Regions from separate parts of the Homo sapiens genome. Here regions 2, 3 and 4 are each linked to region 1. The links are contacts of gene promoters, found by promoter capture Hi-C in human tissues and cell types (Jung and others, 2019). All regions are on one chromosome and are shown on one strand. Each heading gives the region's core, a stretch centred on a gene start or on the middle of the fragment in contact. The rest is flanking DNA. Distances are from core to core; before and after follow the strand shown.

What was found. Contacts are between HindIII fragments. The study calls those that stand out against the background at their distance.
Region 2: a contact is called between the fragment with the promoter of ASPSCR1 here and the fragment with the promoter of CSNK1D in region 1, in 2 of the 25 tissues and cell types used here (dorsolateral prefrontal cortex and lymphoblastoid cells).
Region 3: a contact is called between the fragment with the promoter of ALYREF here and the fragment with the promoter of CSNK1D in region 1, in 4 of the 25 tissues and cell types used here (dorsolateral prefrontal cortex, liver, lymphoblastoid cells and 1 more).
Region 4: the fragment with the promoter of RAB40B here is called in contact with the fragment with the promoter of CSNK1D in region 1 in 1 of the 25 tissues and cell types used here (dorsolateral prefrontal cortex).

The regions. Positions count from the first base shown.
Region 1 is chr17:82,272,014-82,278,859 of GRCh38, reverse strand. It overlaps CSNK1D (casein kinase 1 delta), which reads left to right and starts at 5,160. Exons shown (of 9, transcript NM_001893.6): 1 at 5,160-5,554. The coding sequence starts at 5,479. LOC124904089 (a long non-coding RNA gene) reads right to left here and starts at 5,082. Exons shown (of 2, transcript XR_007065953.1): 1 at 3,787-5,082; 2 at 417-970. RefSeq lists an enhancer at 1,660-2,159 and silencers at 5,021-5,230, 5,471-5,660, 5,711-5,760. The HindIII fragment of the contact is 10,787 bases long and covers 3,327-6,846 here.
Region 2 is chr17:81,972,253-81,978,878 of GRCh38, reverse strand. ASPSCR1 (ASPSCR1 tether for SLC2A4, UBX domain containing) reads right to left here and starts at 1,250. Exons shown (of 16, transcript NM_024083.4): 1 at 1,131-1,250. The coding sequence starts at 1,232. It overlaps LOC105371939 (a long non-coding RNA gene), which reads left to right and starts at 1,394. Exons shown (of 2, transcript XR_933953.4): 1 at 1,394-1,511; 2 at 1,922-2,911. LOC124904087 (a long non-coding RNA gene) reads right to left here. Exons shown (of 2, transcript XR_007065951.1): 2 at 2,544-2,768. RefSeq lists a silencer at 755-1,614 and enhancers at 1,093-1,864, 1,865-2,638. The HindIII fragment of the contact is 10,548 bases long and covers 1-4,829 here.
Region 3 is chr17:81,888,771-81,894,820 of GRCh38, reverse strand. ALYREF (Aly/REF export factor) reads left to right here and starts at 3,235. Exons shown (of 6, transcript NM_005782.4): 1 at 3,235-3,498; 2 at 4,001-4,132; 3 at 5,492-5,639. The coding sequence starts at 3,241. It overlaps ANAPC11 (anaphase promoting complex subunit 11), which reads right to left and starts at 3,098. Exons shown (of 4, transcript NM_001002248.3): 1 at 2,980-3,098; 2 at 1,207-1,269; 3 at 235-354. The coding sequence starts at 343. RefSeq lists silencers at 1,583-1,798, 2,679-3,218, 5,249-5,413 and an enhancer at 5,217-6,050. The HindIII fragment of the contact is 25,438 bases long and covers 1-6,050 here.
Region 4 is chr17:82,695,032-82,701,844 of GRCh38, reverse strand. RAB40B (RAB40B, member RAS oncogene family) reads left to right here and starts at 3,147. Exons shown (of 6, transcript NM_006822.3): 1 at 3,147-3,390. The coding sequence starts at 3,249. RefSeq lists silencers at 2,579-2,968, 2,989-3,418. The HindIII fragment of the contact is 28,650 bases long and covers 1-6,813 here.

The sequences.
Region 1 (6,846 bases), core at 3,911-6,410:
AACAAGACACCAACAGTTTCCCACCACGTGGCTCTACTCCTCACACCCTCCACCCGATAAGATGAAATCTGTAGAAGACATTGATCTCCCTTTCTCCCCTCTTCCCACTTTTTTTTTTTTTAATTTTGCCATCTGTGTAGTTCCTTGTAAAATTTTTTTTTTTTTTTTTAAGACAAGGTCTTGCTAAGTTGCCTAGGCTGGTCTCAAACTCCTGGGCTCAAGTGATCCTCCTGCCTTTGCCTCCCAAAGTGCTGGGATTACTGGTGTGAGCCACCGTATCCAGCCTTCCTCACTTCTGATGGGAAGACTTCCACTCCTCACTGCTCCCTGCCTCCAGGTTGTAGTGCTAGCCTACGGACGAATTCCTTGCAGCAGCATTTCCTGTCGAAAATCTGTTTAACACTTACTTTCCCCAGTTCCAGAGAGGTGATCATTATTTATTCTCCACCATATGTTAGCATGCATGCAAGTATACACACACACGCATGCTGTGTGCATGCACACACGAACACATGCACGTACACACACGTGCACATATGCAAACATATACGTACATGATGTGCATGCCCGTGTAGTGTCTGTGCATAAATGCACAAACACATGCAGACACATGCACACATCCATTTCTAACATGTCCATACACTCACAATACACACGTCTGCATGCAAGTGTGCGCAGGTGCCGACTTACACAGAGTGCTGCTTGACATGGTACCCCTCCCCTTCCCCGCCCTGTCTGAGATCTGGGATCTGTTTCATTCGTTGTTCACGAGGAGGCCTTCCTGGCCCCTTCCTGGCTGGGCTCAGGGTGTTAGACTCGGAATCCTCCCACACTCACAGACGCCTTTCTTTGCCCTGCCAGGCAGATGGTGTCTGTGCCAGGCACGAGTCCTGGGAGCCGTCTCAGCTGTCTGAAGATGTTTTTCTGCAGCTTCCGGTTACATGTAAGCCGCTATCTCAGTCTGTTCATGCTGCTGTAACAAAACACCATGGACTAGGTACTTATAAAGAACAGAAATTTATTTCTCACAGTTCTGGGGGCTGGAAAGTCCAAGATGAAGGTGCTGGCATGTTCAGCGTCTGGTCAGGGCCTGGTGTCTCCTCCCGAGATGACAGCTTGTTACAGCATCCTCCAGAGGGGAGGAACATGGTGTCCTCACACAGCAGAGAGACAAAAGGGGAAAAGGGACCAAACTCCCTCCATCAAGCCCTTTCACAAGGCACTGAGCCATTCACGAGGGCGGGGCCTCACGATCCAAGCCCCTCTCCAAAGTGCCCCCTCCACTGACGCACTAGGCAGGTCAGTCTCTAACACACGCTTTTGGGAGGTCACGGGCAGGGGACAGCAGAGTCCCAAGCCAGTCTGATTCTTTCCTTTTGTTGTTGTTGTTTGTTTGTTTTTGAGACACAGTCTCGCTCTTGTTGCCTGGGCTGGAGTGCAGTGGCAGGATCTCTGCTCACTGCAACCTCTGTCTCATGAACTCCAGCAATTCTCTTGCCTGGCCTCCTGGGTAGCTGGGACTACAGGTGCACGTCACTACGCCTGGCTAATGTTTGCATTTTTAGTAGAGACAGGGTTTCACATGCTGGCCAGGCTGGTCTCAAACTCCTGACCTCAGGTGATCCACCCACCTTGGCCTCTCAAAGTGTTGGGATTCCAGGCATAAACCACCGCGCCCAGCCTGATTCTTTCCCTTTGTTAGCAGATTCTTTCTAAATGGGTATCTGTAAACTTTCCTCTTTCTCTGTTTCTATAGTTTGGGTGTTGGTCCCCTTCAAACCTCAGGTTGAAATCTGAGCCCCAGTGTTGGAGGTGTCTGGGTCATGGGGGCAGATTCCTCACGAACAGTTTGGTGCTGTCCTCTTAGTAATGAGTGAGTTTTCACTCCTACTAGTTCCAGCAAGAGGTGCTTTTAAAAACACCTGCACGGCCGGCACGGTGCCTCATGCCTATAATCTCAGCACTTTGGGAGGCTAAGGCGGGCGGATCACGAGGTCAGAAGTTCAAGATCAGCCTGACCAACATGGTGAAACCCCGTCTCTACAAAAATACAAAAATTAGCCGGGCATAGTGGCGCATGCCTCTAATCCCAGCTACTCAGCAGGCTGAGGCAGGAGAATCGCTTGAACCCGGGAGGCGGAGGTTGCAGTGAGCCGGCATTGCGCCACTGCGCTCCAGCCTGGGCAACAGAGCGAGACTCCATCTTAAAAAAAAAAAAAAAGGCCTGTACTTCCCTACTCCTCCAGCTCCCTCTCGCACACGGTCTGCACACACTCCAGCTGCCCTTCACCTTCTGCCATGAGTGGAGGCAGCGGCAGCAAGGCCCTCACTAGAGGCAGACGCCCGATCTTGAACTTTTGAGACCTCAGCATCGTGAGCTGTGTTAGGCTGTGGTTGCCTTGCTATAAAGAAATACTTAGGACTGGGCAATTTTAAAAGAAAAGAGGGCCGGCATGGTAGCTCATGCGTGTGATCCCAGCACTCTGGAAGGCCAAGGTGGATGGATCACTTGAGCTCAGAAGTTTGAGACCAGTCTGGGCCAGTAAGACCCCATGTCTACAAAAAATATGAAAAATTAGCCAGGTATGGTGGCGTGTGCCTGTAGTCCCAGCTACTCAGGAGGGTGAGGTGGGAGGATCACCTGAGCCCAGGAGGCAGAGGTTGCAGTGAGCCGAGATCACGCCACTGCACTCCAGCCTGGGCAACAGAGCGAGACCCTGTGTCAAAATAAATAAATAAATAAATAAATAAATAATGAAAAGAGGTTTACTTGGCTCCTGGTTCTGCAGGCTTTACAGGAGGCATGGTGCTGGCCTCTGCTCAGCTTCTGGGGAGGCCTCCGGAAGCTTCCAATCATGGTGAAAGGCAATGGGGGAGCGGGCACGTCACATGGCCAGAGCAGGAGCGAGCGAGCGAGTGAGCGAGAGAGAGAGGTGCCCCACACTTTTTAAATAACCAGATCTCAGGAGAACTCACTATCTCAAGGACAGCACCAAGGGGATGGTACTAAACATTCCTGAGAAATCCACCCCCATGACCCAGCCACCTCCAGCCTTGGGGTTTACAATTCAACATGAGGTTTAGTGTGGACAAATATACAAATTACCTCATGATTCTTCATAAATTTCCCAGCCTCAGGTGTTTCTTGATAGCAACAGTAAAGGAGCTAAGACACTGTGGCGTTCAGTTGTATCAGGACAGACCTGGGTGTGGGCTGGCCCTCATACGTCCTGCCGGGAGCTCTGGGGGCTTTCCAGTCTGCAGGTCGGGACGTCCTTCTACTCTGAGATGTTCTAGTATCATCAAACCGCCCCACAGACCATGCCTGGAGACTCTGCCTCACACATCCGTTCCCAGCGGTCACCAGCCCCGCATCCCTCCCTCGTCACCGCATCTGTGCGTCTCCTCTGTGACGGAGGCTGTTCCTTGGCAATGACTATCCTCAGCTTCAGCCCCCTGCTGACAGTTTTCTAGCTCAGAACCTGGCCATGTCTGCACCCTCCCTGTCTTCTCGGAAGGGGTGCTGTCATTCCCTGGGCTACACACCTGCTTTGTCCTCCTCTCTCTGACCCCAGGGCTCCAGGGTACCACTGTCCTCTTCCTTTGTCAGTTTGTTGTGGCTGGGGCTGGTGGTGGGGGAGCCACAGCAATCAGCCTGCCTCACCTTGCCCAGCCCGCATGTTCCCAGGGCTCCTGCCATCCCCACTACACCACAGCCCAGTCCGTGTGCACGGGTTATAGAGTCAAGACACAAACACACAAAAGCCAGGCAGACGGGCACAGTACCTGCCGCAGCTGCATGAAGCTTGGGGCACTATGGGTGAGAAGAGCTAGAAATGTTGGGGCCATCAGAGCCCAGGAGGACCAGCCGAGGGAGGAGCAGCTGACAGGTGGGCAGGTGCCCCTAGTCAGGGACAGCAGGACTCCCCAGGAAGAAGGATCACAGCCACCCGTGGGAGAGCTGGACTCTGTTCATCAACAGAAAAGCCGTGAGCGATTCCGCCAACAAGGTCAGTTTTACTAGTCTGGCAGCCCCCCACCCCCGGCTTCTGTAACTCAGAAACTGGGCAGTTCCGACTGCCCATCCCTCATTAGTGACTGATGGTGGTCTGGCCGGCGGCATCTCCTGTCTCCAGGCCCTGCTATGTAATTTCGGGAATGGACGCCCGTCTCCCCGACCTGACCTCCAGCTGTTTGGAGCTGAGGGGTGGAGAGGAAAGACTGGGGGGTGGAGAAAGGCGAGCACCACTGTGGGGCCTGTGGGGGCTGCTTTCCTCTTCTGCAGTGACCTGGACGGGCTGAGGCTGCTGTCTCACTCACACGGCGGTGCCCACACCACAGCCCTGGTATGCTAATGCGTCAAAACACACCTTCACCTGTTTCACATTCTTGAGTTTCAGCGAGGATGCGACAGGTCTCGAGACACATGGACGTGGGACCATGGGGACGGGTTCTTCAAGGTCCCCATGCACCTGCAGCCTGGGGGGGCTTGTCTGAAGGGCTTTCTTCCCAGTGATGGGAATCAAAGGCCCCGATCTTTGAAGCTGGCCATCAGCCTGAACGTCCACTCCTTGTTTCCTTTGCAAGGAGGAACATTCAGATCCAACACAGATAAGAATGTTGACTCCGTCTCCAGGCCGCAGGGACTGGAGGGAGGCAGGTGGTCTGGCCTCATTTTGTGAAAGGTGGTGGCTTTGTCCTCAATCTTCAGGCTGGACATCAGGACCTCCCAGGGCGCGGGCCTGCTCTGTCTCTGGCCTTAGGTGTCAGGAGGTAAGGCCGCAGACGCTGACGTACTGGGATGCCCCAAGCCCGGGAACTGGCAGCCCAGTGAGGGGGTCTCACCTGTGTCCCCTGAGCCTGGCCTGTCACTCTGTCCACGCCTCAGCTACCTGTCCCCTCCTGCAAAGGGCACCGCCTGTCGCGAGGAACTCACCTGGCTTCCTCGACATCTCGGGGGACACACGAAAAGCCCCCGCGAGAGCAGCAGGAGCCTGCACGTGGAAGGGGCTGGCGGCCCGAGGTCCCGGGGTAACAGGAGGGCAGAGGGGCTGGGCACGGCGCAGGGTCGGGAGGAGGCCTGGAGCGCTCGCCCCGCCCGGCCCCGCCCCTGGAGCGCCGCGGCCCCGCCCCGCCGGGTTGCTAGGGGAAGTGACGTCACAGCGCGATGGCGGCGGCTCCTTTAGGCAGCTGAAAGGGGATTTAGGCCCGGAAGATCCGAGTCCATCCGCGGCGGGGAGAGGGCAAGCGGGACCGGTAGGGGCCGGAGCAGCGGCGGCGGCGCTCGGACTGTCCCATCCGCCCCGTATTGAGGCGCTGGGAGCGGCGGGGCGACAGGAAAGCGATGGTGAAAGCGGGGCCGTGAGGGGGGCGGAGCCGGGAGCCGGACCCGCAGTAGCGGCAGCAGCGGCGCCGCCTCCCAGAGTTCAGACCCAGGAAGCGGCCGGGAGGGCAGGAGCGAATCGGGCCGCCGCCGCCATGGAGCTGAGAGTCGGGAACAGGTACCGGCTGGGCCGGAAGATCGGCAGCGGCTCCTTCGGAGACATCTATCTCGGTGAGGCCCCGCCGCCCCCGCCCGCCGCCCGAAGACCCGGGCCCTGCGGCTGCCAAGACCAAGCGCGATCGCGGAAGGAAGTGGTGGCCCCCGCGGGGTCTCCGCGCAAGTCCCGGCACCGCCGGATCGTGGCCAGAACCCAACGGCCACTAGGCTAGCGCGGCCAGGGGTGGGGAGGGCAGTGGGGAGCGGACGTGGGGGAGGGGCAGGACCAGGTCGGGGGAGCAGGGTCTGGAGAGGGGAGGGTTGGGGAAGGAGGGGATAGGGGAGCTGACCCGGGGTGGGGCATGGTCTCTGGGGAGCCGACCTGGGTAGGGGCAGGGTCGTGGGGAGCGGACTCGGGAAGGGCTGGGTGGGGCGTGGGGAGGCGGGCCTGGGGGAGGGGCAGGGCGGGGGTGGGGGCAGCGGGCCGTGGGAGGGGAGGGGGTAGGGCTGGGGCCGCGAAGCGGGCGTCGGCTTCCTCTACGCCTAAGGTCACCGCAGTAAACAAAGGCCACGCTCTTTCTTCCGCAGCCCGGTCCGGGGCTGTCTGGCTGCCCCCTCAGAGGCTGCCCCGGTGTCTTGCATTCGTGGGGGAAAATGTCAGAAAGACCCAAATGCCGTGTGGAGCGGGGGAGTGGCCCGGCTAGGAGTGGGGCTTGCCCTCCCGCTGGGGGTTCTCTCTGAACGGTTCCCCTTGGCCTTGGAGCGGTGACTGAGTGCAAATGAGCAAGGGTTAAGTTTAGGTGAATGTAGAGAAAGTCACACAGGATTAAGATGCTGGCAAGATGAGAGGCAGATGAGGTAGTTGTACTCATGAGGTGTCCTTTAGACTGTAACAGTCTCAAGGTAGATTTCAAAAACAATGGGATTAGAAGGTTTTGGGTTGTGTCATATTTACAATGGAAAAATATGCACGTGAACACAAGTGTGATGAAAGGTTGGCTTAAATCTTCAAGTTTGTAATTTTTTTTTTTTTCCTGAGACGGAGTTTCGCTCTTGTTGCCCAGGTTGGAGTGCAATGGCGTGATCTCGGCTCACCGCAACCTCTGCCTCCCAGGTTCAAGCGATTCTCCTGCCTCAGCCTCCCGAAAAGCTGGGATCACAGGCGTGCGCCACCACGCCTGGCTAATTTCGTATTTTTAGTAGAGACGGGGTTTCTTCATGTTGGTCAAGGCTGGTCTCGAACTCCGGACCTCAAGTGATCCGCCCAGTTCGGCCTCCCGAAGTGCTGGGAAGCCACCGCGCCTGGCCCAAGTTTGTAATTTTAAAGTAACTTAATTTTCCGCACTTGTTAGTGGGATTGTGCAATG
Region 2 (6,626 bases), core at 1-2,500, 300 kb after region 1:
CCCTGTAGTTCTGCAACCTGCCTTAAACTTGCCTAGCACAAGCTACCCCCTGGCTCTGGCACGGTTCTGTGCACCTGCTGCCACTGCCTGCACCGCCTCCGCCCCTCTTCTCCATAAAAAGCCAAAGCCGTGGCCTTGCACCAAGGGGTCCCGCGCAGCCTCTGCGGGAGCGCCCCACTTCCGCACTCTGCACGCCTGGCACCAACAGCCTCCTGGCTGCGCCCTCCACCTGCCCAGGCCTGGGGACCCCACGCCGTGGGCTGCTCCCGCAAACTCCGAGTCGTGTGCACCTTCGGATCCTCACGGTCCCCCACGCAGCAGAGGCTCAATAAATACTTTTTTTTTTTTTTTTTGATATGGAGTCTCGCTCTGTCTCCCAGGCTGGAGTGCAGTAGCGCGATCTCGGCTCACTGCAAGCTCTGCCTCCCAGGTTCACGCCATTCTCCTGCCTCAGCCTCCCGAGTAGCTGGGACTACAGGCGCCCGCCACCACGCCCGGCTAAATTTTTTTGTATTTTTTTAGTACAGACGGGGTTTCACCGTTTTAGCCAGGATGGTCTTGATCTCTTGACCTCGTGATCCACCCGCCTCGGCATCCCACAGTGCTGGGATTTACAGGCGTGAGCCACCGCGCCCAGCCAATACTTTTACATTTAATTGATTCGCGGTCACAAGGTGCCCAAGTAAAAGTGCAGTGAGTGACTCGGCAAAAATCGCTTCCAGGCCCCACGGCCGGGACATCTGCCACCGCGCAACCCGGGCTCCCGCTCCGGGGGACGCCCCGGAATGGGAACGCGGGTCTAGGGCTCCACTCCTCCCTCTTCCCGGCGCCCTCGCGAGCTGGGCTCGGCCGGGCGCCGAGTACTCGATGCGGGTGACACGCGGCGCCGTTCTACCTCACCCCTGGGAAGGCTCGCCACCGCCCCGCCCCCACTCGGGACCCCCGGGACCCCCGGGACCCCAGCGGAAGCGCAGGTGACGGCGAGCAGGGGGCGGGGCCGCCGCTCAGGAGGCCGCTCATTGGCCGCCGAGGCCCCGCCCCCGAACACCGGGACGCCGACCGCAATGGGCGGGGCCTCGGCGCAGCGCCCCCCGCCCGCCTACCCGTCCGCCCCGGGCGGGCGGCCGCACCTGAAGCAGCACGGTGCTCGGCGTCACCTTCACCGTGTGGCGCCGGCCGTTCGGGGCCAGCACCGACACCGCGGAGCCTCCGCCGCCTGCCGGGGCCGCCATTTTCCGCTCACGTGACCCGCCGCCGGGCCGGCGTCAAACAACTTTATCGGCAACAGCCAGGACGCGCAGCCACGCGGCCAGGGGGCGGGGCCGCAGCGCACTTCCGGGTCCTGCCAGGCCCCGCCCTTTCCCCACCCACGGCGCCCCGGCCCCGCCCTTGGGCCGCCAAAGCCCGCGCCAGACCCGGAAAGCGCGGTCGTCCTCTGCCTCCGGGAAGCGCGGCTTGGATGGGCTCGCCGGGGCCAGGCTGGGCCGGGGCTGGGCGCGCGGTCACCCCCGGTGAGCGGCACTGAGCCCCGGGGTCCCAGCGGTCCGCGCTCGCCCACCCTCGCTTCGTCCCTGACACGTCCCCAGCTCGGTGCCCTGCTCTCCCCCGACCCTCCCGGCTTCCTCCACTCCAGCAGCTGAGCCTCTTCCCTGCCCACCTGTCCCTGTGGTCAGCGTCCACCTCCTGACCTTATGGTTTGGGGCAGTCCCCCCGCCCCTGTACGGATCCTCCCTGGGTGTTGGGACTCGTGGCCCTCAGTCTAGACCTGATTTCTTTCATCCTAAAATGGGAGTGCAGAATCTGGCAGCCCTAGGGCTGCCGCGACGGTCCCTAAACCTGAGGGTAGGAAAGGCGGGAGACCGGTTTCAGAACCGTGGGGTGAGCGAACTTGAGTCTCACCGGAGCTCCTGCCGACCCACAGGCACTCAAGGACTTCCCGCACCAACCCATGCTGAGGAGGGGCTTGGTGGCAGCCTCAGGAAACACTCCCATCGCCAGCCACCGCAGCAGGGAAAGCACCTGGCCTCACCAGCTCCAGGCTTCCAGAAGGAGCTGCCCTCCTGACTCGCAGCCGTCGAATGTGCTTAGCTCCCAGCACCTGGGCCACTCATGGACAGCACTCGCACGTGTTCCGCCCCGCCCCCCACCTCCATGGCTCAGCCGGGCCTTGGCACTCCTCTCTCCATGTGCCTGCCTGTCTCTGCGGACTCCTGGCTAGGGCTCAGCTGCCCAGTAGCCTGTGGAAGGGGGAACTGGTGCAGTTATCAGTCAATCCTCCCACAGGGCTGGGATTACACACGTGAGCCACCGCACCCGGCAGTCATTGCTGAGTCTAAGGACATCTCTGCATGGGTGCTGTTGTGCCTTCCTGTCGATGACATATCCATGTCACCCACACACACCTGTATGCTGACAAACACGGACATCTATGTACATTGGAGAAACCTGGGGAAAGCCCCAGGCTAGCCATAGCCCTCCCATCCAGCCAGCCAGTCCCATGCTCTGTGCAACCTCAGAACCTTACTGAGCCACACATCACCTGGTGGGTTTTAATTCTTTAGTGGCGTTTTTGAAGAGTCTGTTCCTATTTTCCTTAGACTGTCCCACAGTCTGGATCCTTGGTTAAACGTTTGGGGCAATGATGAAGGGAGGTGACAAGTCAGCAGGAGGTGCAGGACATCAGCGTGGCCATGAGTGAGGACGTGAAGTTGAACCACTTGGTCAGCTTTGGGTCTGCTGAATTCCTCCATGGTCAAGGTCCGTGGCTCCTTGTGGAGTAATTAAGGCATGCGTGAGGTCATTCTCTGAGACCACAAGCATCAAGTTTTCCCAATAACCATTTGCCCAACAGTTTTAGCATCAGTTAATGAGTAGATTCAGTGTTAAACCGTAAAGCTGCAAAATCATGGCTTCCCAAGTTTATTGTTTCTTCTACATTTATAGTCACTTTCGGTCAAGCTTCCCCTTCTTTAAAAAGTTATTAAATATTTGGGAGGCTGAGGCAGGAGAATGGCGTGAATCCGGGAGGCAGAGCTCGCAGTGAGCTGAGATCACGCCACTGTACTCCAGCCTGGGAGACGGAGCAAGACTCTGTCTCAAAAAAAAAAAAAAAAAAAAAATTAAATATGGCCAGGCGCGGTGGCTCACGCCTGTAATCCCAGCACTTTGGGAGGCTGAGTTGGGCAGATCACAAGGTCAAGAGATTGAGACCATCTTGGCCAACATGGTGAAATCCTGTCTCTACTTAAAAAAAAAGTACAAAAATTAGCCGGGCATGGCGGTGCGTGCCTGTAATCCCAGCTATTCGGGACACTGAGGTAGGAGAATCACTTGAACCTGGGAGATGGAGGTTGCAACGAGCCAAGATCGCACCATTGCACTCCAGCCTGGGCGACAAGAGTGAAACCCCATCTTGAAATATATATATTTATTAATATGAATTCATGTATTTTTTTCATTCAGTCAGCATTCTTTTTGATGCTCAAATTGGTCCGAATTTGGCCAGTGAGACCTCCTTTAAGCTGGCTCCTATGCTTTTTTTGATAGGAGGGATGATCTTTTATCCTGATATTATTTCAAACTTAGCCGAGCAAGGTGGCTCACACCTGTAGTCTTAGCTACTCCGGTGGCCGAGGCAGGAGAATTACTTAAGTTCCAGCCTTAGTGAACCACTATTCATGCCTATGAATAACTACTGCACCCCAGCCCGAGCAACGTAGTACGATACCGTCTCAAAAAAGGAGAAGGAGAAGAAAGAAGAAGAGGGAGGAGGAAGGAAGAAAGAGAAGAAAAGTTTGCAAAAGCAAGAATTCCTGCTGTATATCTTTTTTTTTTTTTTTTTTTTTTGGAGATGGAGTCTCCCTCTGTCGCCAGGCTGGAGTGCAGTGGCGAAATCTCAGCTCACTGCAACCTCTGCCTCCCGGGTTCAAGCGATTCTTCTGCCTCAGCCTCCCGAGTAGCTGGGACTACAGGTGTGCAGCACCACACCCAGCTAGTTGTTGTTTTGTTTTGTTTTGTTTTTTGAGACGGAGTCTCGCTCTGTTGCCCAGGCTGGAGTGCAGTGGTGCAATCTCGGCTCACTGCAAGCTCCGCCTCCCGGGTTCACATCATTCTCCTGCCTCAGCCTCCCGAGTAGCTGGGACTACAGGCACCTGCCACCATGCCCGGCTAATTTTTTGTATTTTTAGTAGACATGGGGTTTCACCATGTTAGCCAGGATGGTCTCAATCTCCTGACCTCGTGATCCACCCGCCTCAGCCTCCCAAAGTGCTGGGATTACAGGTGTGAGCCACCACGCCCAGCCTCCTGTATATCTTTTAGCCAGATAAATCAGTGTTTACATGTCACCCCATTTGTTTTATCATATTCTCTTTCTCTCTCTCCATATACATGTAAAAACTTTTTCTGGCCAGGCACAGTGGCTTACACCTATAATCCCAGCACTTTGGGAGGCCAAAGTAGGAGGATCATTTGAGCCTAGGAGTTTGAGACCACCCTAGGCAACATAGTGAGACCCCAGCTCTACAAAAAATACAAAGGTTAGCTAGGCATGGTGGCATGTCCCTGTAGTCCCAGCGATTTGAGAGATTGAGGCAGGAGGATCACTTGAGCCCAGGAGGTCGAGGCTGCAGTAAAGACATTGAGCACCTTCGCCACTAAATACTTCAGTTTTTCTCTTTCCTAAGAATAAGGCCAGTCTCAACCAGGTGCAGTGGCTCACGCCTGTAATCCCAGCATTTTGGGAGACCAAGGCGGGTGGATCACCTGAGGTCAGGAGTTCAAAACCAGCCTGGCCAACATGGTGAAACCCTATCTCTACAAAAAATACAAAAAGTAGCTGGGCGTGATGGCAGGTGCCTGTAATTCCAGCTACTTGGGAGGCTGAGGTGGGAGAATTGCTTGATTGTGGGAGGTGGAGGTTACAGTGAGCCAAGATCACGCCATTGCACTCCAGCCTTGGCGACAGAGTGAGACTCAGTCTCAAAAAAATAAATAAATAAAATAAGGCCAGTCTCTTATATAGCCACCATAATTTCATACAAAATTGGGAAATCTAATGTTGGTATCATACTCTGAGTTAATCCACAGTTAATTGTCCAAGTGTGGACATCTTTCCTGCATCCTTTTGGCATTTCCATTATTCTTTGGGCATCTCCTCTCTGCCCAAGCCCTGAAGTCAGCCATTTTTCAGAGAAACCCCAATCCCTTTTACAAGGAAATGGGATTTAGAGACCAAGTTCTGGGTGCTGAGTGTGCTCATGGCTACTGGGATGTCACTGCTTTCTGGGCCCTCTCAGGGGACACAATTAGTGTGATGAATTCATCTGAATATTTCTAAGCCACACCTCAGCCTTCTCCCCCTTCTTCCCTCATTCCATATTTGTATTTGGTTGAATTCTATTAAATTGCCCTAGTTAACCTTTTTTTATCTTCTTTTTTTTTTTTTTTGAGACGGAGTCTCACTCTGTCACCCAGGCTGGAGTGCAGTGGCGCAATCTTGGCTCACTGCAAGCTCCACCTCCCAGGTTCACGCCATTCTCCTGCCTCGGCCTCCCGAGTAGCTGGGACTACAGGCACCGGCCACCACACCCGGCTAATTTTTTGTATTTTTAGTAGAGACAGGGTTTCACCATGTTAGCCAGAATGGTCTCAATCTCCTGACCTTGTGATCCGCCTGCCTCGGCCTCCCAAAGTGCTGGGATTACAGGTGTGAGCCACCGCACCCAGGCTTTTTTTTTTTTTTTTTTTTTTTTTTTTGAGACAGAGTCTCGCTCTATTGCCCAGGCTGGAATACAGTGGCACGATCTCGGCTCAGTGCAACCCCCATCTCCCGGGTTCAAGCGATTCTCCTTCCTCAGCCTCCTGAATAGCTTGGATTACAGGCGCTTGCCACCATGAGCAGCTAATCTTTGTATTTCTAGTAGCGATGGGGTTTCACTGTGGTGGCCAGGCTGGTCTTGAACTCCAGACCTCAGGTGATCCTCCCACCTCGGCCTCTCAAAGTACTGGGATTATAGATAGGCATGAGCCACTGCGCCCAGCCGATCATTTTTGATCTACAAAAAAATGACAAAACCTACATGGTTCAACCTAATACCTCCTTTGTCCGCAGTGAGAACCCTAATTGTCAGTAAATCAGTATATTTATTCATTTGCTTTGTTCTAAAATGCCCTCCAAATAGTTTCAGAGGTACTGCGGCAATCTTGCTATTAACAACAGATCTACTGTGGAAATTTCAAGATGTCTTTGTAGCTATTTTTGTCCTTTAGAGTATGTCCCATTAAAGAAACATAGAGTATTGTGTTCAAAAGTTATTTGAATTAATTTGCTTTTCTGTGTTAGGTTAGGTTAGTGTATTATAGGGTCCTCCAGAGAAACAGAACCAATAGGATATGCACAGATATATACAAGAGACCAGCCTGGCCAACATGGGGAAACCTCATCTCTACTGAAAACACAAAAAATAGCCGGGTGTGGTGCTGCACACCTATAGTCGCAGCTACTCGGGAGGCTGAGGCAGGAGAATCACTTGAACCCGGGAGGTGGAGGTTGCAGTGAGCCGAGATCACACCACTGTACTCCAGCCTGAGTGACAGAGTGAGACTCCATCTCAAAAAAAAAAGAG
Region 3 (6,050 bases), core at 1,986-4,485, 380 kb after region 1:
GTTTGAACCCGGGAGGCAGAGGTTGCGGCAAGCCGAGATCGCGCCATTGCACTCCAGCCTGGGAAACAAGATCGAAACTCGGTCTCAAAAAAAAAAAAAAAAAAAGAAAATGAAACTGGGTATTTCGTGCAGGTATTTAACAGGAGCTACTGAGGCTAGTCCAGCAGGCAGCAGACAGCACAGAGGGGACACTCACAGTCGGGGCCGCTCAGACAGCATGGAGGGGACACTCACAGTCAGGGCAGCATCCGTTAAATGCCATCCTGCAGATGCCACAGTTCTCATCGTTGGCCACCCAGAGCCAAGTGGCCACGCCGTTCCAGCACTTAATCTTCACCTTCATGGCAGCAGAGCCTGCGGCGGAGGGAACAGGACGACTGGCTAAATTGAGTCTGCAGAGCTAGAACGTTTAGGCACCAACACAGGTATAAGCCTGCCACAGTGCAGTCCCAGCTACTCAGGGGGCCAAGGCAGGAAGATCATACCGGCCCAGGAGTCCGAACCCAGCCTGGGAAACATCGTGAGCCCTGTTTCTATTTTATTTTACTTTTATTTTTATTAATTTTTTTTTTTTGAGACAGAGTCTCACTCTGTCACCCAGGCTGTAGTGCAGTGGCATGATCTCAGCTCATTTCTTGTGCTTCGGCCTCCTGAGTAGCTGAGGCTATAGGCACGTGACTCCACGCCCGACTAATTTTTGTATTTTTAGTAGTCGAGGTTTCACCATGTAGGCCAGGCTGGTCTTGAACTCCTGGCCTCAAGCGATCTGCCACTGCGGCCTCCCAAAGTGCTGGGATTACAGGCGTGAACCCCTATGCCCTGCTATGAGCCCCGTTTCTATTAAAACAAATAACAAGTAAAGGGCTCTGGGCCCAGAGGGTCAGGGCTGCAGGGGAGCTACGGGAGAACAGCAAGCCCCAGCAGCAATCCGCTTTGTGGCTCACACCTGTGATCCCAGCACTCTGGGAGGCCAACTCGGGAGGATCGCCTGAGCTCAGGAGTTTGAGACCAGCCTGTGTAACACAGTGAGACTGAGTCTCTACCAAAAAAAAAAAAAAAAAAAAAGGAAAAAAAAGAACTATCTGTGAGGTTTCTTTAGCCATCTAGAGAAAGGGCACACTCTTCTCTCCAAGGGAAGGGACTCAGCTCCTTACGGACAAGGAGATCACATTTGGGAGCACAGGACAGTCAGGAGTTTGGTTTTACCTCACGTTGAGGATATCTTCAAAGATCTCAAATGGGCCTGGCCAACATGACGAAACTCCGTCTCTACAAAAAATACAAAAAAATTAGCCGCAGGTGGTGGCTCATGCTTGTAATCCCAGCACTTTGGGAGGCCGAGGAGGGTGGATCACTTGAGGTCAGGAGTTCGAGACCAACCTGGCCAACATGGTGAAACCCCATCTCTACCAAAAAAACAAAAATTAGAGGCCAGGCGTAGTGGCTCACGCCTGTAATCCCAGCACTTTGGGAGGCTGAGGCAGGCAGATCACAAGGTCAGGAGTTCAAGACCAGCCTGGCCAACATACTGAAACCCTGTCTCTACTAAAAATACAAAAAATTAGCCGGGTGTGGTGGTGGGCAACTGTAATCCCAGCTACTCGGGAGGGTGAGGCAAGAGAATCACTTGAACCTGGGAGGCGGAGGTTGCAGCGAGCTGAGATCACGCCAGCTCCCAGCTCTATTCGGGAAGCTGAGCCACAGGAATCACTTGGACCTGGGAGGCAGAGATTGCAGTGAGCCGAGATCGCACCACTGCACTCCAGCCTGGGCAACATAGTGGGACTGTCTCAAAAAAAAAAAAAAAAGCCAGCTGTGGTGGCGTGCACCAGCTGCCTGAGAGGCTGACGTGGGAGGATAGCTCGAGCCCAGGAGTTTGAGGCTGCAGTGAGCCAAGATCACACCACTGCACTCCACTCTGGGTGACGGAGGGAGACCCTGACTCAAAAAACAAAAACAAAAGCAAGTATCTCAAAACAACTTAAAATCCATGAAATGGGCTGGGTGTGGTGGCTCATGCCTGTAATCCCAGCACTTTGGGAGGCCAAGGCGGGCGGATCATCTGAGGTCAGGAGTTCAAGACCACCCTGGCCAACATGGCGAAACCCTGTCTCTATTAAAAATACAAACATTAGCCAGGTATGGTGGCACGTGCCTGTAGTCCCAGCTACTCGGGAGGCTGCCGCTGGAGACTCGCTTGAACCCAGGAGGCAGAGGTTGCAGTGAGCCGAGATCGCCCCACTGCACTCCAGCCTGGGCGACAGAATGAGACTGCCTCAAAAAAAAAAAAAAAAAATCAATGAAATGGCACACTGGTTTTCATTAATAAGTTGCAAAAATAATTTTTTTTTGGAGACAGGGTCTGGCTCTGTCGCCCAGGCTGGAGTGCAGTGGTGCCACCACGGCTCACTGCAGCCTCGACCTCCTGGGCTCAAGCAATCCTCCCACCTCGGCCTCCCAAGTAGCTGGTAGTACAGAAGTGCACCACCATGCCCAGCTCATTTTTTTTTTTAGAGATGGGGGTCTCACGATGTTGCCCCGGCTGGTCTCAAACTCCTGGGCTGAAGCGAACCTCTTGCCTCGGCCTCCCAAAGTGCTGGGATTACAGGCGTGAGGCCCGCGCCCGGCCCGCAAGAAAACTTGTAAAGGATATGACTGGCAAAATGTGACAGTGCAGACTTGGGGGGGCTGCAGGTGGAGACCAAAAAACCAACCCGCAGCTCGTCTGCAGCGGCTGCCGCCCGCCGAAGCCGCGCCCGCCGGACCCCACCGCGAGCCGAGCGCACAGTCCTGGGCGGGAGCGGAAACAAGGACTCCCAGCAGCTCCCAGGCACCCGCCGCGCCCGTAGCGCCCCCAGCGCCCCCAGCCCTGGCCGATCGGGCGGAGCGTGCGGGGAGGGAGGGGCGCGTAGGCTCCGCCTCCAACGGCCGCCGCCCCACCCCCTGCGCCCTCGCACCTTCGCCAACCTAATCACGCACCGCCCTACCCGCCCTTCCGTTGGCAGCGCCGGCGTCCGCGCGGGAAGGTATAAAAACGACCACAGTCGCGGCCCGACTCCCTCAACAGCGCCCGCCGAGTCTCGCACGCCAGTGCGCACGCGCCTCCCCGCCTCACCCCGTCCCGCGCGCGCAGCCGTCCGCCAGCGGCCAATCAGCAGCCGCTCCGAGGCCGTGGCACCGGAAGGCCTCACGCGGCGCCGGAAGTGACGTGCCGGCGTGCTGACGCGCGGGCTCGAGCCGATGCCCGATTCCGCGCCCGCCATGGCCGACAAAATGGACATGTCTCTGGACGACATCATTAAACTGAACCGGAGCCAGCGAGGCGGCCGGGGCGGGGGCCGGGGCCGCGGCCGGGCCGGCTCCCAGGGCGGCCGCGGCGGTGGGGCGCAGGCCGCCGCGCGAGTGAATCGAGGCGGCGGGCCCATCCGGAACCGGCCGGCCATCGCCCGCGGCGCGGCCGGCGGAGGCGGCAGGAACCGACCGGCGCCCTACAGCAGGGTGAGTGCGGAGGCCGGCCGCGCCGGAGAGTGGGAGGGGGCCAGCCGGGGCTGGGGCCGGGGCCGCTCGCGGCGGAGACCCGGGCCGGCGGGTGGATAAGGCTGGTGGAGCGGCCGCCCGGAGGTCCGGAGGGTGCGTGTGGGCGCGGAGGGGGTGGTGGGCGGGAGCGAGGTCGTTCTTTCGGGGTCCGGTCCCGGAGGCTGAGACCCTTCCCAGCTCTTTGTTTGTTCCGGACGTTGGGGCCTCGTGGCAGGAGAGGAGGGGACGCTGGGCGCGGCACAGGCGGCGGGAAGTTAGTCTAAGGGAACTGAAGTTGTGCGGCCGCGGTGGGACCGTGCGGCCTCGGGCTGGGGCAGCTGCAGCGCCGGAGGGAGCGCTGGCGGCCCCGTTTCGGCCGGATCCTCTCAGGCCGGGAAGAGGAAGGGTCCGGAGTAGCCGTGAGGGTCAGGAAAGCCCTGGACTGAGACTCACAGATCTGCTCTTGTTGCGGTTTTTTTTTCAGCCAAAACAACTTCCCGACAAGTGGCAGCACGATCTTTTCGACAGTGGCTTCGGCGGTGGTGCCGGCGTGGAGACAGGTGGGAAACTGCTGGTGTCCAATCTGGATTTTGGAGTCTCAGACGCCGATATTCAGGTAAGAGACGAGGGCTTCTCGGTGAGCCGTTCGCCCTGCACAGGACGGATCGTGATTTTGGGGATGTGGCCCTGAGTCCCCTTCCCGCCTTAGCGAAGGGAGCCCTCCCAGCTCTGAAGGGCTGCAGGACAGACCCAGTGCTAGTAAAGCCGGGGTCAGTGCGCAGGCAGGTGCGAGCCTAGCTGAGCCTGAGGAACTGCTGCTGTTAGTCTGAAGATGGGTTCTGTGAGTGAAAATCCCCTGCCAGGGCTTCCAGTTTCTAACAGGGACAAAGACTGACCAAATGTGAGTGGTTTTTGGCTGTTAGACCCAGCCCAGTTGCTTTTTAAATTTTGTGCCTGTCTTAGTGGGTTAATGTGAGAAAAAGAATCTTCTTTATGTATCTTGTGAAGCACAGGGAGTCTGTTTTTCTGGCTCTGTTTGCCTTGAGTACTGTCTTATAAAGACCTTGTACGCTGTGGTTTTATCACTCCCCACCGCCGTGTCCCGTCAGTGACATGACTCTCAAATCCATCTTTGGTTGAAGCTTTTCTTTTTTAAAAAAAGAAAAATTGAATCCCAATGGCATTTCAACTTGTTTTCTGGTTAAGAAATGACTTTTTGGGAATCAGTTTTGGAGATGGCTGGGCAGGGTTCAGTTGCCCACAGCCCAGCCATTTGCCTTGGGAGGACAGAGTAGGGCCAGTGAGCACTCACAGTGTCTCAACACTTTTTTTAAGGTGGTTTCTAGCATCCACTGGAAACCGCTTTTGGTGAACTCCAGTTCCCGCTGTGTGCCTGCGGCCGGAGTATCCCCACACTCTGGGTTCCCTCTCCAACTCCCAGCCTGCCTGAGGTCAGGGCAGTTTCCATGACAGCGCTTGACTTCAGACTTTGCCGCAGGCTTGAGTAGGAGGAGAGGGAAAGGTGAGCCAGAATCTGCCTTTGGGGGAGGGGCTGGGGTCAGGGCTCCCGAATCTACAGGCCCTTCAAGCTGGTCTGATATCGGACTGCTTCCCTTGCTCTTGATTTTGGCCTTTACCGTTTCTTGGAACAGCCCTTGGGTGTGTTGTACATTTTCCTTTGTTGAAGAGGATAGTGGCTTAATTTTGTGCCCGTTGCTAGTGGGCTTTGCAGCTTCCTCTACCTGCATCGTGGTACACGTGTCAGGTCCCCACAATGGCAGGAGCCCTCAGACCCAGGTGCTCTTGGAAGTTGCTGTCCCTCCTGCCCCGCCCTTCCCTCATTTCCCGTTAACCACTGTCCTGCCTCCCAGAGAACCACCCCCAAAGCAACTCACGCTTCCAGGGCCTGTCCCTGGGCCACCAGAAGGAACGCAGTTTTGTTGCTTTTCTGACAACTGCTCTCTGCAACTCCCAGGAACTCTTTGCTGAATTTGGAACGCTGAAGAAGGCGGCTGTGCACTATGATCGCTCTGGTCGCAGCTTAGGAACAGCAGACGTGCACTTTGAGCGGAAGGCAGATGCCCTGAAGGCCATGAAGCAGTACAACGGCGTCCCTCTGGATGGTGAGTCTGGGGGTGGACCCACGCTGACTGTGGGGCTTGTGGAGTTTGGGGCTGGCACCTGTCCAGGTAGGAATATGGGGTACCCCTGTGGCTGAGGACACTTTGCATTTGCCCCTTTGTCTCTCTCTTCCATCTGCCACCTCTCATGCTGCCCCACACATCTGGACCAACCTCTTGTGAACCCCCATCCAGCAAGCTACATCCCTCCCCTCCTTCAGCTCCTTCCGGAAGATTCACTTCTGTGAAGCCTTCTCAGAACCGCCATAGTACACCTCTGAGTGCGGGGCTGTAGTCGTAAAGACAAAGGTACCGGTTCTTCTTCGTCAGGTCACCCACACCTCTCCACCCACGAGCACCCCGATACCTCAGCGAGCAGCCCACCTAGTCTGGACTGAGAAGGAGTGAGGAGGT
Region 4 (6,813 bases), core at 1,898-4,397, 420 kb before region 1:
TTCACGCCATTCTTCTGACTCCCAAATAGCTGGGACTACAGGCGCCTGCCACCACGCCCGGCTAATTTTTTTGTATTTTTAGTAGAGACGGGGTTTCACCGTGTTAGCCAGGATAGTCTCGATCTCCTGAACTCGTGATCCACCCGCCTTGGCCTCCCAAAGTGCTGGGATTACAGGCTTGAGCCACCGCGCCCGGCCTTTTTTTTTTTTTTTTTAAGATAGCATCTCACTCTGTTGCCCAGGCCGGAGTCCAGTGGTGTGACAGCGGCTCACTACAACCTCTGCCTCCTGGGTTCAAGCAATTCTCCTGCCTCAGCCTCCTGAGTAGCTGGGACTACAGGCTAGCGCCACCGTGCTCAGCTAATTTTTGTATTTTTAGTAGAGATGGGGTTTTGCTACGTTAACCAGGCTGGTCTCGAACTCCTGACCTCAAGTGATCCACCCACCTTGGCTTCCCAAAGTGCTGGGATTACAAGCATGAGCCACCACGCCCGGCCTCACCTCCACCTTCTGATGACATTTTACTCGTGGAGAAGCATCAGTAAATGTTCCTTTCATTCCTTCTGCCCACAGAGGCCTAGTCTCCAGAGCAGCCCCAGATCATGGGTGGGTGGATGTTCAAGGAGATTTCAGCGTGGCCACAGGGAGGAATGTTCCGATGATCCGAGATGGACAGGTCTGGAAGCCTGGCTCTGAGTTGGGCAGAAGGTAGGCTAGTGCTGTCCAGACACCTCCACCCTCTGCCTGGACTTTACACATGTACTGAAACTGGGGAGGAGGAAGAGGTATCCCACCACAGGACTGTCCCTCAGGAAACTGGGGGCCCTGGTGGGAGGAAACCTGCTTTGGCTGTAGAAATAAACACCTCTGTTTGGTGAAAGCAATGTTTGGGGCAAGAAGATGGACACCATATCTGAACACAGCCCTCTTCTGACGTGGTTATTTTACCTGGCCCTCCAGGTGGGAGTGGCCATGTTCCAGCTCAGCCAAGGCCAGCTTGGAGGTGACAACTAGGAGGTGGTGAGGACCTTCTGTGGGGCAGGAGAAGAGCAGACAAGGGCTCCCCCATCACCTGTCCTCTGTAGGAAGTGGTCTGGCCACCCCTCTCCATGCCCCACCGTGAACACTGCTGGACTGCTGGGTGTGACCCCGAGGGTGGGCTGGGGGCCTCCTGACCCCTATTGTACAGTGAGTCTGGATGTGTAGGTGGGGAGCGAGCAAAAGAAGGTACCCTTTCCTCACTAGGTAATAGCCATGTGACCCACAGCTGATTGGAACATGGAGACTGAGGGTTAGGGATGGGAAGGAAACTCCCCTGAATTCTTTTTGGCAGAGTGGTGGGGCTGGGGACTAAATGCCATCTTTCTCATAGTTTTCTAGCGTCCACCTTCCATCCTCTTTTCTTCCTCTGACCTTCCTTCTAAAAAAAAACAGTGCTGCAATCCCAGCATTTTGGGAGGCCGAGGTCGATCACTTGAGGTCAGGAGTCAAAGACCAGCCTGGCCAACATGGCAAAATCCCATCTCTACTAAAAATGCAAAAATTAGCTGGGTGTGGTGGCACATGCCTGTAATCCTAGCTACTTGGGAGGCTTGAATCCAGGAGGTGGAAGTTGCAGTGAGCCAAGATTACATCACTGCACTCCAGCCTGGGCAACAGAGCAAGACTCTGTCTCAAAAAAAAAAAAATGTGGCTGCATTAGTAACTAAAGCAACTAATCAACCAATGAATAACAGGTGTTGCAAACTAAATTGGCATTCCAAAGTAAACATTTTCTAGGTCCAAATGAATGCAAATGACAAATATAATAATCTTGACTTCAGTCTCTTTTGTAATTCTTCTTCCGCTCCCTCTTCTGTTCCTCCCCCACAAAAAACTTCTAATGGGGTCTAGAGCAGTTCCCTACACAACGCAGGGTGGAGGGGATGAAGTAGTGGGGGCATTATCCTTCTTCTTGGACGGAGCTCGCCCTTTGCCTGCTGCCTGAATTCTGCACCAAATAAACCAATGTGCACCTGGTGAGACCCTCAGAGCGAAGGGCAGACCTCGGCCTGGCAACCCTTGCTCTCTAGAGCAGAGGAGAAGCCAAAAGGCTGGAGGGTCCCACCCAATGCTCTCCTCCAGCACGCACGCAAACACATGCATGGATGCACAAACAAGCGCACGCACACATAGGAGCGCATGCATAGAAGCAGCACACGCAGACACACACATGCAAAGATGCCTGCAAAGGCACACATGCACACGCACATACATGTGCAGACACCTGCAGAGGCACACATGCACACGCAGACACACAGATGTGCAGACATCTGCAGAGGGACACATGCACACGCACATACATGTGCAGACACCTGCAGAGGGACACATGCACACGCAGACACATAGATGTGCAGACACCTGCAGAGGGACACATGCACACGCAGACACATACATGTGCAGATATCTGCAGAGGCACACATGCACACGCAGACATGCACACACACGAACACATGCACACGTACACAGGCGCATGTGCACACACAGGCATTCAGGCACGCCGCGTAAATGGGGCAACGACGAGGCCCTGGATGAACCGTGGGGAGAGACCGCGAGCCTGGATTCTACGGCGACAGGGACTCCTCCGGCGAGGCGGCCTGCGGGGGCCTTCCGGCCGCGTCCGCCAACTGGACCGACCCCGAGCCCCACCCGGCCAGGCACCCGAGGTCTCCCTGGTGGGCAGGTGGGGAGGCCCCACGCTGGGACCCTGCACCGCCCCTCGCCCCTCCCGACTCGGGGCGTGCAGACCCGACGACCGTGGGAGCGAGTTCGTGGCGCTCACGGGCGCACGCGAGAGTGTAAACACCCGGCCCCACCCCCTGATCGCCCCCACCCCGCCCCGCCATTGGCTGCGGGAGCAGAGTCCCCGCCTCCTGCTTGTTCTGGCTCCGCCCCTGCCCCGTCTCCGGGCCTCCATTGGCTGTGGTGACAGCGACCTTTCAGGAGGGGCGGGTGGGCGACAGCCCGGAGGCGGTGACGAGAGTAAGATGGACGGACAACCAAGCCAGTGAAAGCGCGCAGCTGCCCTAGCAACTGCGGTCCACCAATGGCGGGGCCGGGCGGGGATGCGCGCTGTCAGCGCTGGGCGGCGGGGCGGGGCCGGAGGCGAGCAAGGACTCGGGGCCCGCGCGGCGCCTCTCGGGGCCGGGCCGCCGCCTCTGCGCTCAGCCCCGCAGGCCGGGCATGGGTGGGGGCGCCGGGCCGTCACGATGAGCGCCCTGGGCAGCCCGGTCCGGGCCTACGACTTTCTGCTCAAGTTCCTGCTGGTGGGCGACAGCGACGTGGGCAAGGGCGAGATCCTGGCGAGCCTGCAGGATGGCGCGGCCGAGTCCCCGTACGGCCACCCGGCGGGTGAGCGCGGGCGGAGGGCGTGCCGGGGTGCGGGCGCGGGGCCGGGGAGGGGCGCGGGGCTGGGGAGGGGGTGCGGGTGGGGGTCCGGGTCCGGGGACGCGAGACCGGGCAGGGGTCGGGAAGAGGCCGGGGCGCGTGGCCGGGGAGGGTAGGAGTCCCGGTCCGGGGGCGCGGGGCTGAGGAGGAGCGCGGTTCGCGGGCGGGCCTTTCTCCGCCCGGCCCTGGCCCTCGTGCTGCGGCGTCCCTGTTGCACCCCCAGTTCCACTCGAGGCCCCGCGGCGCAGTCTCCATCCTTCTCCGCAGTCTGCGCGCAGCGGGAGCCCGCGGCTGGGCCGGGCGCTGGGCTCCTCCCGACCTGGGGCCGCTGCTGTGGGGACCCGGGGCGGGGGCTCGAGTCCGCAAGTGCGCGTTCGGCCGCGGGGCAGGAGGGGCGGGAGGGGACGCGAGCTCCGGGGCTCCTGGGGCGGAGCGCGGCGAGCAGGCGCCCAGGTGCTGGGTCTGCGCGTGGGTCGGAGGGGAGGGGAGACCAGGGTCCGGTCCCGAGGCCAGGGGTCCCGCGTGTCCGGGGGAGAGGAAGGAGCACAGGTGACTCGCGTGCGGAAGAGGGGACCCCCCACGACAGCGGCCGGAGAGCGGGTTCCAGGGCGAGGGGAGGCCGGAGCGCCCAGAGCTCCCAGGCAGGCAGCCCGGGGATCCCCCAAGTTTGAGGCTTGAAAGCCGGCGCCCGGCGAGGGGGTGGACGGCTCCGGGGAAAGAAAGGCGGGGGCAGGAACCCAGGAGAAGGGGGAACGCGCAGAGGCGAACACCTCGGCTGGGAGTGAGGAGCAGGCGGGGCCTTCACCCACGCGCATCCCTGGAACAGCTTGGACGAGGCCGACCCTGAGGCTGTGGAAGGAGCCCAGCCTGTGCCCACCTTCCTGCCGCGCCTCGGGGCTGAACCCACGCTTCCAACAGAGACCCGCTCTGAGTCCTGGGCGGAGGAGGGCAGCCGGGCGTGGAGATGGAGTCTTGGTGGGAAGGACCTGTCAGCTCTGGGGCCTGGGAAGGGTCTGGGAAGCCCCAGGTCCAGGGTCCTGCCAGAGACGAACTTAGCGGGAGAGGGTGGGAGGAAGCGGGATCTGAGGCTGCTCGGTAGAGGGTGCAGGCTGTCCCCTAAGGGCAGCTCCAGGCAGGCGGCGTGAGCACCAAGGGAGTGTGGCACGGCTGGAGGGGGTGGCCTGAGACTGTGGAGCGTGGGGTGGGACTCAGGTGCCCGGCCACACCTCAGCTTAGGGGACGGGGTGAGGAATGGGCAGAGTTTGGGGGAGCAGCTGAGATGGGCTTGGGCTCACGACCAGCACCCAGAGGCCTCCTGAAACTGCAGCATGCGGGGGAGTCTCTGGCAGCTGGTGGGTGCAGAGTGTGCTCCGTGGGGCAGGAGGGGAGCCTGCGTCTCTACCTGTCCCCAGGCGCCGCTGCCCCCGCATGTCCTACCCCCCTCCCCGCTCGGTGGCAGGTCTCTAGGACCGTGGTGTCCAGTAGGATGCCATGAGCCACGTGTGGCTGTGGAAGTGTAATTAGAAGGAAAGAAAACAAAAAGCTTCCATTCGTCACATTTCTAGATAGTTCGGATGTCGCTGTGGCAAAGTCCGAGGGCCAGCGCTGCCCTGGAGATTGAGCGCCTGGAGGACAGGGCTGGAGATTGAGCGCCTGGAGGACAGGGCTGGAGATTGAGCGCCTGGAGGACAGGGCTGGAGATTGAGCGCCTGGAGGACAGGGCTGGAGATTGAGCGCCTGGAGGACAGGGCTGGAGATTGAGCGCCTGGAGGACAGGGCTGGAGATTGAGCGCCTGGAGGACAGGGCTGGAGATTGAGCGCCTGGAGGACAGGGCTGGAGATTGAGCGCCTGGAGGACAGGGCTTTGTCTGCACTGTGCCCTCGGGGTCTGGGCTCAGTGAGGGATGAACCCTACCAGAGCTACAGGAATAAAGCACCCAACAACGTGTACGCCCAGACGAATATGGCGCTTTAAGAGCTGTGCGTGTTTTGGGGGAGCAGACGGTTGACAGTGTTGAGTTTGATTGAAGGTGAGTGCCGTGGGGCGTGTGTGAGAAGGGTCACGCACAGAATGTTTGTGAAACTTCCTTCTGGTTGGTTTGAATGGAGGCTCGGGGATGCTTCTGCTGCGTGACTTTTGGTTGCTACATGCCGAACTGAGGACGAACCAAAACAATGGTCCAATGCTTTGTAATAAAGGCTTTCCCTTGACACGGAGGGAGGATTTAGGCTAAAAATACACCTCCCACCGGGCCGGGGGCGGTGGCTCACACCTGTAATCCCGGCTTTGGGAGGCCAAGGCGGGCGGATCACCTGAGGTCAGGGGTTCGAGACCAGCCTGATCAACATGGAGAAACCCTGTCTCTACTATAAATACAAAAATTAGCCGAGCATGGTGTCACATGTCTGTAATCCCAGCTACTCGGGAGGCTGAGGCAGGAGAATTGCTTGAACCCGGGAGGCGGAGGTTGCAGAGATCGCACCATTGTACTCCAGCCTGGGCAACAAGAGCGAAATTCTGTCTTAAAAAAAAAATCCCATCAAGAGCTTTATTGTCTACTTGGCCTGAGCTGCTGTAGAAAAAACTGATATCACGGGTGTACCCTTGCAGGTTTTTGATTTACCAAATATTTGTTTTAGAGTTAAGAAAAGATATTCTGAAAAATAGTAAGAAGTTGAGATCATTATGTTTTGTTTTTTATTTTTTCAGAGACAGGGTCTTCTCTGCCGCCCAGGCTGGAGTGCAGTGGTGTGATTGCAGATCACTGCAGCCTTGACCCTCCTGGGTTCAAGCCATCCTCCTTTTTTGGCCTCCTCAAATGCTGAGATTATAGGCCTGAGCCACAGCACCTGGCCATGTTTTTTTTTTTTTTTAATGACATGTTTCGCTGAGAAACACTATAGGTGCTTGTTATTGAAAGGTGAGGGCAGCCGGGCGCAGTGGCTCACAGCTGTAATCCCAGCACTTGGGGAGGCCAAGGTGGGCGGGTCATGAGGTCAGGAGTTTGAGACCAGCCTGGTCAACATGGTGAAACCCTATCTCTACTAAAAATACAAAAATTAGCTGGGCGTGGTGCCGCGTGCCTGTAATCCCAGCTACTTGGGAGGCTGAGGCAGGAGAATCGCTGGAACCCAGGAGGTGGAGGGTGAAGTGAGCTGAGATCACACCATTGCACTCCAGCCCAGCGACAGAGTGAGATTTTGTCTCGAAAAAAAAAAAAGAAAGAAAGAAAGAAAGAAAGATGAGGGCGTTCGTAACTCCACACTCCATTTCCCTCCACCCAATTCCTCCTGAGTTTTGTAGCCCAGGCTGTTATTTTTATATTGTCCAGGTTTATAGCCCTTGCTTCTGTATTGTGGCTGTAGTGCCCGCAATGATTTAGTATC